3 separate regions of the Homo sapiens genome follow, and regions 2 and 3 are each linked to region 1. The links are contacts of gene promoters, found by promoter capture Hi-C in blood cells and fetal thymus (Javierre and others, 2016). All regions are on one chromosome and are shown on one strand. Each heading gives the region's core, a stretch centred on a gene start or on the middle of the fragment in contact. The rest is flanking DNA. Distances are from core to core; before and after follow the strand shown.

What was found. Contacts are between HindIII fragments. The CHiCAGO score rates a contact against its expected background, and 5 or more counts as called.
Region 2: a contact is called between a fragment that was not itself captured here and the fragment with the promoter of SERP1 in region 1, in 1 of 17 cell types (naive CD8 T cells). The highest score is 6.8, in naive CD8 T cells.
Region 3: a contact is called between a fragment that was not itself captured here and the fragment with the promoter of SERP1 in region 1, in 1 of 17 cell types (activated CD4 T cells). The highest score is 5.8, in activated CD4 T cells.

What each region holds. Positions count from the first base shown.
Region 1 is chr3:150,543,595-150,548,766 of GRCh38, reverse strand. SERP1 (stress associated endoplasmic reticulum protein 1) reads left to right here and starts at 2,271. Exons shown (of 3, transcript NM_014445.4): 1 at 2,271-2,715; 2 at 2,989-3,064; 3 at 4,269-5,172. The coding sequence starts at 2,632. The coding sequence ends at 4,309. It overlaps EIF2A (eukaryotic translation initiation factor 2A), which reads right to left and starts at 1,980. Exons shown (of 14, transcript NM_032025.5): 1 at 1,937-1,980. The coding sequence starts at 1,964. RefSeq lists enhancers at 1,673-2,212, 1,485-2,684, 2,130-2,760. The HindIII fragment of the contact is 4,802 bases long and covers 1-3,504 here.
Region 2 is chr3:157,170,231-157,175,402 of GRCh38, reverse strand. It overlaps LOC101928236 (a long non-coding RNA gene), which reads right to left and starts at 1,703. Exons shown (of 10, transcript XR_007096141.1): 1 at 848-1,703; 2 at 14-654. It also overlaps the pseudogene RNA5SP146. RefSeq lists enhancers at 189-568, 1-1,054. The HindIII fragment of the contact is 1,250 bases long and covers 2,452-3,701 here.
Region 3 is chr3:155,850,672-155,855,843 of GRCh38, reverse strand. SLC33A1 (solute carrier family 33 member 1) reads left to right here and starts at 1,417. Exons shown (of 6, transcript NM_004733.4): 1 at 1,417-2,621. The coding sequence starts at 1,847. It overlaps LOC105374174 (a long non-coding RNA gene), which reads right to left and starts at 1,091. Exons shown (of 3, transcript XR_924607.4): 1 at 766-1,091. RefSeq lists enhancers at 830-1,389, 1,760-1,829. The HindIII fragment of the contact is 1,501 bases long and covers 2,177-3,677 here.

The sequences.
Region 1 (5,172 bases), core at 1,022-3,521:
AGTCCCTGATTTTAAGCACTGTAAGACAATTGTCATCCTTGGTTAATTTACTATAAAGTGGCTATCCTTCATTAATTTAAAAGGATAGTCTAAACAGACAAATCTAATCTAGATCTCTTGTATGCACAGTTCAAAATAGGGTTTGCGCTCTTATGAGGCTCTAATGCCCCCACTGATCTGACAGGAGGGGAAGCTCAAGTGGTAATGCTTGCCCAGTACCAGTCCGGCCCAGGGGGTTGGGGACCCCTGATTTAGAGTATCTATTGTCTACCAGGCACTGCACTAGTACTGAGAAGACAGATATGAATAAGACCCTGTCGCTGACATTGAAGGACTCACAGTCTAGCAGGGGAGAAAGGCAAGTGAATGTCTAATTATCCTACTTAGTAAGTGAAATAAAATTTCAAATATATTTCAGGTACAAAAATAGCCCAGGAAGTGACTGACTCTATCTGGGTAGAGTGACGAAAGGCTTCACAGAGCAATGATATCTAAAATGAATTTTAATTTCAACAGATGAAAAAGAGTTTGCCAAATCAACAAGAGGCATAGGATAGTACTAGACTGAAGAAACAGGTTGTTCAAAGGGACTCAGAAGCAGTTCAGTATTGATGGAGCACCAAATAAGATGGGATGGCAAGGAAATAAATGAGTCTCAAGAGCAATTCAAAGATTATAAATGGTTACATAACTATGCTACATAGGATGGAATCTACCCTGTAAGCAGAGAGGAACTACCTACTGTAGGCATTTTTAAAGGAGGGGTTATTTATCAGATTTTAGAATGTAATTTTTTCATTAGAGTTCAAATAAGCATTTAGTATTAAAAATTGTGAATAACAAGCTACCTTTACAAACCTAAAAAAAAATTTATTATGTAACTTTGCCTTTTAAACAGTCTTTGCCTGGTATATTATCTAGAAGATTATACTCGGCGTTTGATAAATGATGACTAAACTGCAGAAGACAGACTGAGCATCAGTGGGCATGGCGCTTAATAACAAAGATTTTAAAATGTAAAAATAGAAATGTAGACTGGCAAAAAGTGCAAAAATGTTTTAAGGTTCCTTTCGCGGGGGGGAAGGGAGGGAATAGCCTCCCTCCTTAAATGCAGACAACCTTTCTCTTAATGACTTTTTCCTTCTATATAGTTATCAGAACTTAACCAAAACCTTCTTTTCCTTCCCGACTCTCTTTTCCTTACGTAATACTCATATGCAGACTCTTAGCCACACCCTAGTAAAGCAACTTCCCCAGCATTTTCCAATCTAAGTTTATTATCTCCTCCAACACTACAGTCTTTAGCTTCAAAATTTCAAGAGTCCTCTAATGTTCTATTTCTAATATGCTCATAACCATTTCAAAATCAAATGTTGCTAGAATATCTCTATCATGCTCACTGCTACACCCTCTCCCAACCACACCTTCATCATTTGAAACCTGCATTACAGCTCCACTCTCCCTATTCAGTCCTACAAACCTCATTAAGGCAGGAAGGCCAGAATCTGGAATTACTTAAGTCCAGGTGTATTTAAAGTGCGTGATCATTCTAGAGGACTAACTCATGTTTGTCTTTGTTCTTATTGTAGACCTAAATGACTTCACAAGGGCCCGTGTAACACCAGTATTGCAGACCCATGTGTCACAAATTCAACTAGCACATTGTTTTTCTCCCCCTTCTTCTATTTCTGTAGAAGATGAATCCGCAGGCAAGAATGATGGATGGGTGAAAGGGAGGGGGAATACGAAAGCCCAGAGGCGGAGACTTCACTTCCGATTGCCACGCTATATCAAGAAAGCCAACAGTCTGGCCTTTCCGCAAGCCACAAGAAAAGGCAGATCAGACTCCCCGGCTCCTCGGGTAGTTCTCAAAGGCAAAGACAAAAATAAGAAACTAGTCTGAAGAAAGAGAGTCCCTCGCTTCTTCAGAACTCACCTGTCAAGAGCGGCGTGGACGGCGCCATGTTGTCCCGGAAAGAGAAACCGCTCGGGTGAGAGTTCACCAGGGCCGAACCCGGCCCCTACACGTCTCCTCATGCGTGGAGACAGCGAATTGGTGTTTCCGGAGCCATCAGCCTCGGGGCCAATTCACTTCCGGTTACGGAGTGACGCGGAAAAGGCGCCCAAACGCGCACGCGCAAATCTAGGGCGACGCTTGACAGAGCTTGGGAGGGTGCGCCTGCTTTCGCCCTCCTTCTCCAGCGGGAGGGGCGCGCACTTCCGCGGGGCGGAGTCCGTCTAGTGCTGACGTTGGCAGCCGAACCCAAAGTAGATCGAGGCGGCGGGCTGCACATTCCCGTTGTTGCGTTGCGTTTCCTTCCTCTTTCACTCCGCGCTCACGGCGGCGGCCAAAGCGGCGGCGACGGCGGCGCGAGAACGACCCGGCGGCCAGTTCTCTTCCTCCTGCGCACCTGCCCCGCTCGGTCAGTCAGTCGGCGGCCGGCGCCCGGCTTGTGCTCAGACCTCGCGCTTGCGGCGCCCAGGCCCAGCGGCCGTAGCTAGCGTCTGGCCTGAGAACCTCGGCGCTCCGGCGGCGCGGGCACCACGAGCCGAGCCTCGCAGCGGCTCCAGAGGAGGCAGGCGAGTGAGCGAGTCCGAGGGGTGGCCGGGGCAGGTGGTGGCGCCGCGAAGATGGTCGCCAAGCAAAGGATCCGTATGGCCAACGAGAAGCACAGCAAGAACATCACCCAGCGCGGCAACGTCGCCAAGACCTCGGTAAGGAAAGAGCGGGCGCCCCTCTGCGTTCCGCAGCCGGAGCTGAGTCCGGGTCCCTGGGGCCGCGTCGCGTTTTCTCCCGGATCCGGCCGACCGTGGGCTGGTGCCGTGGAGGGGTAGGGGCCCGAGTCTGCGAACCGCCAGACTGTGGGGGCTCGGGAACGGAAGGGGAGACCTGTGAGGTGAGGGGGCCGGCGACCGGCGTGCAGGCGTGGGAGCCTGGGGTCCGAGTGGTTTCTCTGCATCTGAAATGGTGGATTTTCGCTTTTGCAGAGAAATGCCCCCGAAGAGAAGGCGTCTGTAGGACCCTGGTTATTGGCTCTCTTCATTTTTGTTGTCTGTGGTTCTGGTAAGTGGCTTGGGGGCTCCCATCAGGTAGAGTCTTGGGTTGAAAGGATTTGGGATGACGTGGTGACCGGTCAGTAGTGAGTCCTACCTGCGTAGTTCTCAACCCACCTGCCGAGGACTCCACATAATTCTGTTTCGTCTGAACCAAATTACTTGTTCCACATATGCACAGAGGGTGGTGCTCCAGAAACTTCTCCCAGCTTAATTTGTACTCACAGGAGATCAAAAAGGAGGTCAGGTCTTGGTAATGATCCAGTTGGAATAAATGTTAAGACCGGACAAAACCTAACGAAATGAGAATTTAGAATGTTTTGTAACTCCATTATCAGTCTTTGCAAAGAAAATTATAAATATGTACTATAGATGTTAGAACTTGATTTAACATATACCAGAATCTAATGTCTTAATGTCAAAATTGAGTATATTTTATAAAATAAAGCTTGTGCAAAGAATTGATTCACTATAGAGGAAATTACCTGATTGGCATTTTAATGTGTGAGTCAAATGTTTTTAGGTTAATAAAAGAAACGTTTGATACATGGTTTAAAAAAAAAGTGTCGGGGTAGCCTGCTGTCCCCTAAGAGTAACAGACACTTGCCTTTGCAAATAGATTACAAAAAAAAGGTCTTTCCTCTCTTCATTTATCATTTTAATATGCAAGCTGTTAATATTGAAGTAGATGTTTGTTTTCCACATTCTAAAATTACTGAGATTTCTGTTTAACGTTTCACTTTGCCTTTCTTCTTCACTTACCAATTGGAAGCTTTCCTGATAAATGGATGAGAGCCAAGCAGTTTATATAACCTGAAGATGATTGAATTTCAGCTTTGTGAGAATGAGGAAACATGCATGTGTTACAGGCCAGGCCTTAAAAGGATGCTTATAAACCAAAATAATTCTATGCTGGAAAAACCTGTTGGCTTTGGTGCTTTAAGTTCTTTGTAAAATGATTACTTATCTGCAAGTTCTCTTGGATACTTAGACATAAAGTTCAGCGAAGCTAAGATAAAAAAATAACTCAGGGATATTTCATTGTTTTATTTATTCAGACAGGCCTGTCTTCACTTCTTATTATACTGAAGTTATGTACCATTTGCAAATGTAAGAGTACCTTTGGATTCTTCAGCTACCTTAATAAATATTTGTTAGACACCAGACCTATTTTATTCAAAGCTTATTTTAATATTTGCTCTTTCTTTTTACAGCAATTTTCCAGATTATTCAAAGTATCAGGATGGGCATGTGAAGTGACTGACCTTAAGATGTTTCCATTCTCCTGTGAATTTTAACTTGAACTCATTCCTGATGTTTGATACCCTGGTTGAAAACAATTCAGTAAAGCATCCTGCCTCAGAATGACTTTCCTATCATGCTTCATGTGTCATTCCAAGGTTTCTTCATGAGTCATTCCAAGTTTTCTAGTCCATACCACAGTGCCTTGCAAAAAACACCACATGAATAAAGCAATAAAATTTGATTGTTAAGATACAGTAGTGGACCCTACTTATTCAGTCAATTAAGAGTAAGTTTTTTTATGTGGTTATTAAAACAGTATGAACAATTAGTCTAACTCTGCATAGACAGGGTCTAGATTTTGTTAACCCAAATGTATAACTGCAGTTAGCTTAAATTACAATTTGAAGTCTTGTGGTTTTTATATAGCTAGGCACTTTATTACTCTTTTGAACTGAAAGCACACTCCCTTATAGGTTCATGTAACTGTCCTGTAATAAGGTGCTTATAAATGGAACAACTACACAGCCTAGTTTTGCCACAACCTTTAGCATCTAAAAAGTTTTAAAAGCTTCTAAATGTCTAATATAAAGGGAGATGCTTATAGCCACAACATCTATTTTACCAATATTGTTTCCATTACACTACCTTGGATTTTGCATGAGTGAGTATAGTAACCCAAGATGCCATAAAAAAAAAACTTGATCGTTTTCTGACTTAATCAGTTACTGTGGTTTCACTAAAAGCTACCGTGGTGGAGTGAAGTCAGTCAGGGAAGGTTTGTTTATGTTACATTTATTTCACCAGAACTATTTTAATATATCAAAGGGGTTTACTATGCCAAACAAAATTCTAGGGAAAAATACTGCTAAAAAT
Region 2 (5,172 bases), core at 1,827-4,326, 6.6 Mb before region 1:
TAACAGAACTCACAGGTTAAAAGGCGATGAACTAGCTCGAGGGGTGCCCGCGTTTTCACCCTTTTAGGAAATGAACAGCTTAAAGGTTTAACTTGAAGTTTCAGGAAATGACAAAATTACTTTTACTTTTCCTCAGACCCAGGAAGAGTCAAGCTCGCGGCAATAGAGCCGAACTAAGACAGAGGATTCTGCGGCTTACGTCACAAGAGGCGGCGCCGCGGAGGACCAAGGGAAAAGACCGCCCTACGCCACGGCCGCGCAAGGGTAAAACGCTAGCGGGTAAGTTAGATCCGGCCGCCGGATGCAGTGGCTGGCGGAGGGATCCTCTCTACTGCAACCACGCGAAGCCGATTGCGCCGCGCATGCGCCGGGAGACTCGGATTTGCCAGTTTTCCGGCTTTTGAGCCGCTCTTCCGGCGAGTCCCTGGGCTTCCGAGAAATGACGAAGTGGGCGGGGTCCTCCTTCTCGACCGTTGTGAAATCAATTCGCCTCCCCCGGAACCTGCTGCCGGGTCTTGCACATGTTCCGTGGCAGAGCTGACCGCGATCGTTCCTGGCTTGGATGCCTTGAGGCTTGGCGCCGGCGGCCGGACCTGCAGGGGTTGCGGGGGACTCAGGCCACTTGTCTGACGGGGCGTAGGCAGCAGACTACCACTGAGCTCCGGGAAAAGGGAAAGGGGAAACTGATCAGCCCCCTCCAGTCACTTACCCCACAGTTAAGCCCTCCAGAAAACCCACCTCCCTGCTTGACCTCTGATGGCCGTTTCAGGGCTTGTGACGATTATGATATCGCCAGAGTCCTTCCGTGAAAATTGGAAATGCCATAATAATACTTAAATTCACTTACCCCAAAACAAGCAGTGTGTTACGAGGTTTATCCAGAAGATGAAGAGCAGAGCAAAAAGCAAATGATAGCCGTGGCTTTCACGTTTAAAAACAGTTCTTAGGCAGCGCCGGGTCGCGGTCCTGTAGTCCTAGCTACATCGGAGGGTGAGGCGGGAGGACTGCTGAAGCCCGGGAGTTCGAGGCCAGCCTGGGCAACATAGTGAGACCTTGTCTCTAAAAAGAAATAAGAAATGTTCCTGAAAGTTTTCATGACAGGGTAGAGTCCAAGCTTTTCCAGCATATGACTTATCTACTGCTACCTTTCTCCCTGAACTCCGTCAGCCCAGGGAAGAATCCAGGTTGGGATTTATGTTTACAGATCCAAAACTAAGCACAAGAGATCTTTAAATCCCATGACAAAACAGTGCCTGAAAGAGCTGACCACCAGATCCAGCTTTTGAGTTTGAAGCTGAGATCGTCCTGCATACAGCAGGATTGAGTGAATGAATATAAATAAATTATAGGTATAAAAACATGGTCCACAGCCACACCACCCTGAACTTGCCCTGTCTTCTCTGATCTTGGAAGCTAAGCAGGGTCTGACCTGCTTAGCTAGTCCTTGAATGCGAGACCACCTTGAAACACTGGGTGCCGCAGGCTTTTGAAAAATAAAATATATATATACGTTTGATCATTCCCTAATTTTGTAATTCTGAAAATTAAGTATACACTAGATATTTTTATATCTAAAGGCAAGACAGTAATCCAGCCAACATTTTACACTGATCCCTCTTTCCCACCTTAAGAAATAATTCAGGTGGGGTTTTTTTTTGTGTTTTTTGTATTTTTTTGAGGCAGCGTTTTGCTCTTGTCACCCAGGCTGGAGTGCAATGGGCGCGATCTTGGCTCACTGCAACCTGCGCCTTCTGGGTTCAAGTGAGTCTCCTGCCTCAGCCTCCTGAAGTAGCTGGGATTAGAGGCATGCGGCACCACACCTGGCTAACACCGCAAACGGGGTTTCACCATGTTGGTCACGCTGGTCTCCAACTCCTGACCTCAGGTGATCCAGCCACCTCGGCCTCCCAAAGCGCTGGGATTACAGGCGTGAGCCACCGCGTCTGGCCAGTTCAGGTGTTTTTTAAGAGATGAGGTCTCCTTATGTTGCCCAGGCTGGACTTGAACTCCTGGGATCAAGTTATCCTCTCGCCTTAGTCTCCTGAGTACCTGGTACTACAGCTGTGCCCAATCACACCTGCCTTAACTGTGTTGTTTTTGAGAGTCCAGTGATAGTATATGAAAATGCTGTGAAAACTATAAAAATCAGGTATCAAATATAAGTCGACTCTCAAGACTAGGATGTAGATACCTCTGAACGTTTCCTGATTGCTGAAAATAAAAGTCTTGTTCTGTGCTATTTTTAAGATGGGGCTGATAAGCAATATCCAGTTATGTGCTGTATGCATGTGCCTGCGTGTGTATGTGCATGTGTGTGTGACAGTGACACTATAAAGAAACAGTTCCCTGAGGCAAAACTAGACTAGGTCTCCAGTGACTTCAATGTTACAATGCACATAGTTTAAATCGAAATTCCCTCTAAAGCACCTTGTGGTAGATCTGGAGAAAGCTTGTTCTTTTAGTACTAAGGTATCATTGTTTTCACTGTGGTAACAAATGCTATACTTGTTCCAGAGAACCAACATTACAGTAGAGCCCTTGTGTGTGGTCATGGAAAGAACACTGGACTGGGCATCAGAAAAACCACCGTTCTAATTTCACTCTGCTACTGGATCTAAAATCTTGGTCGAGTCCTTTCACATCTCTGAACTTCCATTTCTTCACATGTAATGGTCTTTGTTCCTCTCCTGTATGCTCCTGTAGCATTCTACCCTTTCATGTAGCATTCCATGTACTCTATTTGTTCATCACTTTGGTCTTAGTGCCTAGCATAACATAGTTTAGTGAATACTCAGTAGAGATTTGTTAGAGTCATTCTAACTGTACAAAATTTCATTATGGGCCATTTTTCTTTGATACTGATATTTGTTAGAATGCTATTTACTGTGGAAGAATAATCCCATGGATTACTTATTAATTGCAAGGGTGTTAAGGTACTTTTACAATGGAGAAATCTGATGGATACCACCTTAACAAATGATAAAAAGTAGCCAATAATTGAACAAAAAATTGGGCATCGTGTGCCCCTAGATGTGAAGCATGGAGATACAACATTACCTATGGAGTATTCCTTGAAAAATCTTTAACCTGAATCTAATCATGAGGAAATAATCAGACACATCCAAATTTAGGAACATGCTTCAAAGTAGTTGGCCTGGAATTGTGAAAAATATCACAAGACACACACACACACACACACACACACACACACACACACACAAACTGCTATAGAATTTAAACAGACATGACAGCTATACGCAGGGAACTTGATGTGGTGCTGGTTTACTTTTGTTTTATAGTGTTCAAAATAGTTAATGAATGTGTTCCTGGGAGAAAACTAATTAAAATGTGTAGGGAGCTTCGGAATAGCTGATTCTCATTATTTATAAAAGTTTCCTCTTGAAATTCTATTTCTGTTGAATGTTTATTATGAAATAGAAAACATTACTAAAAGGGGTCAGCCACTTCATTGCTCAAAATAAAATTACAACTTAATCCTTAAGAGGAAAATGGAATCATTTTAAAAATGTCATTTCCAGGGACTTGCTAGGTCCTTTCTATTTTTAATTGTACAGGGCTATCTCCAGTCCCTGAAGTCACTGCTCCAGCCCCAGCTACTTCTGTAGCCCTCCTTCTCCTGTTTTCAAGTTTTGTAATTATTAGAGACAAACAATAAAAAGAAATGAACTACTAGAAAAGCTTGAAAAACTAAATGTTCTTAATATTACAGTTTCTGATTTATAGCTCTTGATTTTCTTGTTGAGGTAAACACTGCTTTAAACCCTCCAGAGTTTCTGAGAGTCCCCTAAAATGAGGGTCTGTTCCTCAGCCCTTCACATGCCTGACATGCCTGCCCTCGCCCACCTCTTCAGCCACATTAGTCCCTAGTATACACACGTATGCACCACATTCTAGCACACCACAGTATTTCTTGTGTCAGTCTTTCCATTAAGATGGGTTTAAGATTAAATAAGTAAAAAGGAGTTAAGTGTTCGTGTAACTGAAAATCCCAGCAGTAGAATACAGGGCATGGCTGCAGGGAAATAAACTAAGTGATTGGATTCTGTTTCTAGCTCTGGTCTCTGCTCTTTTCTCTGCTGGTTCCATTCTCCAGCTGGTTCTCTTTTGTGTCAAGATGGCACTCAGTAGCTCTGTGCTTAAATCCTCCTCTCAGTAATCCCAGCAAGAACAAGCACTTCTCTCTCCTCCCCTTGCAAGTGTTCCAGCAAGAGTTCTGGACATGACAGACATTCAGAACCAATCGCTGTGTGGGAGGGAAGGGCGATGGGAGACTCAGATTAGTTCACAAAGTAGGAAAGAGGTTAGTCCTACCCAAACCACTTTTGCTGAGAATGGAGAAGTTGCAGGTCCTCAAGGGAGAACTGAGGAAGGGAGACTGGGCACTGGGCAGGCTGAAACACAGATGTTCACTGTATTTCTCAATGCACCCAGCGATCTCATACCTCCCCATCTTGGCACCTGTTTTCCCTCTGCCTAAAATGGTCTTCCACACTTATCCTTCTGACCAATGTTTATGAATGTAGTCTTTAAAACCTAGACCACATATTACCTCCTTTTTGTTACCTTGTCAAAAAAAATTCCTCCATCCTCTGAACCCCTTCTGTGCATTGTATCTGTTTCTATTATTACCAGACTGAGTCAAAATTCTTTTTCAAGGCATGGCAATTCTATAAGTCATATATGTTCAGTGTAATATGTGTGTGTGTGTATCTATAGACTCCACATTCTAGCGTACCACAATATTCCTTTTATCAGTCTTTCCATTAAGTTGGATTTAAGATTAAATAAATAAAAAGGAGTTATGTATTCATGTAACTGAAAATCCTAGGGGTAGAATATAGGGCATGTCTGCAGGGACATAAATTAATATATTTTTATACATATATATTAATTTACATATATATTAATTTACATATATATTAATTTATATATATTTAATGCCATTCAAAAAGTGGCCTGTGGCCCAAGGACTGGCACCTGACTCTGAACTTATTACCCATCTTCAACGAGGTAAGTGAAGAATTGAGAGTAAACGTTTAGAAACTTTTATGGCATGTTGACAGAATAATTTGATGTCTGTTGAATCTAATGATAAACAATGCAGGCTTGTATTTTCAATGTCTTTAAAAATTTCAGCTGGATGAGGTGACT
Region 3 (5,172 bases), core at 1,678-4,177, 5.3 Mb before region 1:
TCCGCCTCCCAGGTTCAAGCGAGTCTCCTGTCTCAGCCTCCCAAGTAGCTGGGGCTACAGGCGCGCGCCACCAGGCCGAGCTAATTTTTTGTATTTTTAGTAGAGACGGGGTTTCACCGTGTTGGCCAGGATGGTCTCAATCTCTTGACCTCGTGATCCACCCGCCTCGGCCTCCCAAAGTTCTGGGATTATAGGCGTGAGCCACTGTGCCTAGCCTGCCATTACGTTTGTAATCCCAGCACTTTGGGAGGCCGAGGCAGGCGGATCACGAGGTCAGGAGTTCGAGACCAGCCTGGCCAACATAGTGAAACCCCGTCTCTACTAAAAATACAAAAATTAGCCGGGCGTGGTGGCGCGTGCCTGTAGTCCCAGCTACTCGGGAGGCTGAGGCAGGAGAATCGCTTGAACCCGGGAGGTGGAGGCTGCAGCGAGCCGAGATGGCCCTACTGAACACCAGCCCAGGCGACAGTGTGAGATTCCTCTCAAAAGAAAAAAAAATAATAATCTTTCTGCCAGAGGTGAGAGAGCAGAAAAAAAATTAATCAGATTCTCAAATTCCTGTACGTCTCTTAGTAGAGACGGGTTTCTCCTTGTTGGTCAGGCTGATCTTGAACTCCCAATCTCAGGTGATCCGCCCGCCTCGGCCTTCCAAAGTGCTGGGATTACAGGCGTGAGCCACCGCGCCCGGCCACAAGACGTTTTATTGCAACATAAAAACAGGATGTAACGAGTCTTCCAATCACCAATGTAATTAGAGTTGGTTACCAAGTTTCCCCACGCGTCTTCCACCATGAGGGAGAAACGGACTGCAGACAAACCTAGCACCCCTTGAGCAGTTTAATTCGTACTATAAATATGTAGGCACCGTAAGGACGCGATTCTCCAGTTTGCCAGGCCTTTTTCTATCCTTTTGGGGGCACAAGGCGACCTTGCCTCCTGATTCAAAAACTTCGTAAACGTCAATCCTTCTACCCTTTTCTGGTCAGCCCACGAAAGCAGCAGCATGGCACAACTCCCAGCCTAGAGTTCGGGCACTGCCTGTCGTCAGCATAACGAAGAAACCTACACCCACGAAGACTTCAGACCCCACGTGATTACATCACTCAACCACCAGCGCTGGCCTGGAGGAACCCGCTGTCACGTGACCGCTCGTGCCCAATGACCGAGGCCCACGCTTTCCAGACCGCCACAGTCGCTGTCACAGGGCCTGAGTTTGGGCGGCGCCCCGCCCCGGCCGCACGGTGCGCCGGCGTTAATCCTCCCCGAAGGTTCCGGCAGCCAAGATTGCAGGTTCCCACCAAGCATTGTTTCCGAACTGGGCCACGAGAGCGTGTCCCTGATTGGCTTGCTCTGGAGGCTGGGAAGGGACCTGTTAGAGACTGGGACCACTTCCTGAAGCGCGAGGCAGGAAGTTATATGCTTTTTCTGGAGTCCTGTAGAGAAAGTGCTCTCTGCCGCATTGATAGCAGCGAGAGCTGGAGGTGTTGGGTCGGGAGACCAGCCGTTCGATCCCGCCGCAGGTAGGAGCTGGTTTCCATCCTGGCACCACGGCACACACCTCCAGCCTCGAGCCCGGCGCTGCTGCCCGGGGGTCTCCTTCAGGCTCTTTGACGCCGTTCCAGGGGGCACCTATCCAGGCATCCTCTGGGCCTCTAGCCAGAGGACTGGCTCCCGGCTTCAGCACTCCGGGCTGCAGTAAGAAGTGCCCTTATCGCTCTGAGCCCTGCCACCATCCCGTGAACCACCGAAACCCTGGTCCAGCGCGACAGCCTTGGACCTGGGACTGGACGGATCCAAAACGCTCAGCCTCGGCCCCCCACAGACGGGGCTCTGCATCGTCTCTGATATGTCACCCACCATCTCCCACAAGGACAGCAGCCGGCAACGGCGGCCAGGGAATTTCAGTCACTCTCTGGATATGAAGAGCGGTCCCCTGCCGCCAGGCGGTTGGGATGACAGTCATTTGGACTCAGCGGGCCGGGAAGGGGACAGAGAAGCTCTTCTGGGGGATACCGGCACTGGCGACTTCTTAAAAGCCCCACAGAGCTTCCGGGCCGAACTAAGCAGCATTTTGCTACTACTCTTTCTTTACGTGCTTCAGGGTATTCCCCTGGGCTTGGCGGGAAGCATCCCACTCATTTTGCAAAGCAAAAATGTTAGCTATACAGACCAAGCTTTCTTCAGTTTTGTCTTTTGGCCCTTCAGTCTCAAATTACTCTGGGCCCCGTTGGTTGATGCGGTCTACGTTAAGAACTTCGGTCGTCGCAAATCTTGGCTTGTCCCGACACAGTATATACTAGGACTCTTCATGATCTATTTATCCACTCAGGTGGACCGTTTGCTTGGGAATACCGATGACAGAACACCCGACGTGATTGCTCTCACTGTGGCGTTCTTTTTGTTTGAATTCTTGGCCGCCACTCAGGACATTGCCGTCGATGGTTGGGCGTTAACTATGTTATCCAGGGAAAATGTGGGTTATGCTTCTACTTGCAATTCGGTGGGCCAAACAGCGGGTTACTTTTTGGGCAATGTTTTGTTTTTGGCCCTTGAATCTGCCGACTTTTGTAACAAATATTTGCGGTTTCAGCCTCAACCCAGAGGAATCGTTACTCTTTCAGGTAGTGTATTTAAGCTATTATGGTGTTAGGTTTATTTATCCTTTTGAAAGAGTGTGTGACGTTGGAGGGAAGCTCATTAATTTACTGGAAATCATTGTATGGGAGATAACTCAAGGTAAGTTTTCTGTTTCGTCCAAATGAGCTTCTTTGAAATATTAAAGCCAAAATGAATGATATTAGAGCAATCAAATGATCACTATGCGGTTAACAGGGAGAGGCAACCCATCAAATAACACAACCGAGTCCAGGGATTCATGCCACTTGCTTAATACACAAATGCACACTTTTAAAAAGTGTGGCTCATATGGTTCACATTTTTCCTTTTGTCTTGTTGGTTTTAGGTTTCTAGCTCTATACTTTCTAATCCATTTCTACCCCTACCGTTGTACCCAGAATCCAGCCTTCTAGTGAATGGAACAGGGTTTATTCGTTCAAACATTATTGAACCAGCTAAGGGACGGGATTCTAAGGCCTCTAATGAATAAGGCAGAGTTCTGCACTCAAGAAATAAGGAAGATGAACATTTTAGGAGAGTTCAGAGTTGCCAGTTAGTAACTGCCTTTGGGAGTCAGGCTTCACATTGCAGATAACATTTGACTTTGTTCTTGAATAAGATTCCACGAGGCCAGGAAATGGCACACCAGAATGCACAACACAAAGTAAAAGTGCACTGAGGCAGGAAAGTACAAAAAAGTACAGGACATTGCCTAAATTGTGGAACTGGGTTTGGGAAATCGTGCTGAGAAAGGCTGTGACTAAATTAGTAAGATTTTCTTTAATTACTATGGGAAAAGAGTTTAAAGTTTGTCCTGTAAGTAATGGAGGGTAAGTTCTAAAAAATTTCCCTGTTTCTCTGCATGAGTAAAACACATGTAAGTTTTTCTCTTTTTTCTTTTTTCTTCTTTTTTTTAATTGAGATAGTTGGGGGTCGGGGGGGCTGTCTCACTATGTTGGCCAGGCTGGTCTTGAACTCCTGGCCTCAGGTGATTCTCCCCCTCCTTGGCCTCCCAAAGTACTGGGAATTATAAGTGTGAACCACCCCACCTGGCCTAAGCTTTTTTGTTTGTTTGTTTGTTTTTAACTTTTGTAACAACTAGAAAACAAGTAAAATGACCAATATCAGGAATAACAATGTCAGGAATATAGTGAAATTCTTCATTCTGTCAGTGATGATGAATTTAGGGGATTCTGTTTTGAAATTTAAGCAACTGAACTTCTCAGCTTCTGTGCTACCTTGGAAATTCACAGTAGAGTAAATGTCCAGGTATGTGGTGGTGGTAGGAGGTGTCACAACTACACTATTTTCCTGCAATCTTATTCTCACAGACATCTAACCTTATGTACACCTCCTCAAACTGCTAATGAGTGAGCCACTATTACTGGTGAAATGATGGTGATAGTACTTTTTCCTCAGTTGTTTGGTTGAGAGATAATTGCTTTGCACCCAGGTAGATTTGTCTCAGTGTTCTGGGGTTCCACTCCTGCTTTATGAATAATTCACTGCTGGCCGGGCACAGTGGCTCACACCTGTAATCCCAGCACTTTGGGAGGCTGAGGTGGGAGGATCACTTGAGGTCAGGAGTTTGAGACCAGCCTGGCCAGCATGGCGAAACCCCATTTTTGAGACTCTGTCTCAAAAATAAATAAATAAATAAAATAAAAAATAAGTCACGACTGGGCACAGTGGCTCACACCTGTTATCCCAGCACTTTGGGAGTCTGAGGTGGGAGGACTGCTTGAGCTGAGGAGGTAGAGCCAGCTTGGGCAATACAGCAAGACCTCATCTCTACTAAAAATTAAAAAAAAAAAAAAAATAGCTGGGTGTTTTGCGAAGGCCTGTAACCCTAGCTACTCAGGAGGCTGAGGCAGGAGGATTGCTTCAGCCCGGGAGATTGTGGCTTCAGTGAGCTATGATCCAATCATTGCACCCCAGCCTGGTCAACAGAGTGCAACCCTGTCTTAAAATTATATATATGTATTTTTTATATGGAGTCTCCCTCTGACACTAGACTGGAGTGCAGTGGCAGGACCTCAGCTCACTGCGATTTCCACTTCTCTAGTTCAAGCCATTCTCCTGCCTCAGCCTCCTGAGTAGTGGGATTACAGGCATGTGCCACCACACCCAGCTAATTTTTGTATTTTTAGTACAGACAAGGTTTCACTGTGTTGGCCAGGATGGTCTCGATCTCCTGATCTTGTGATCCGCCCACCTCGGCCTCCCAAAGTGTTGGGATTACAGGCGTAAGCCACTGCGCCCAGCCAAAATAAATTAATTAATTAAAAATAAAATTAAAATAAAGAAGTCAAGGCTGGTGCAGTGGCTCACGCCTGTAATCCCAGCACTTTGGGAGGCTGAGGTGGACAGATCACCTGAGATCAGGAGTTTGAGACCAACCTGGCCAACATGGCAAAACCCCTTCTCTATTAAAAATACAAAAATTAGGTGGAAGTGGTGGCATTCACTTGTAATCCCAGCTACTCAGGAGGCTGGGTGGGGAGAATCGCTTGAACCCAGGAAGCAGAGGTTGCAGTGAACCGAGATCGCACCATT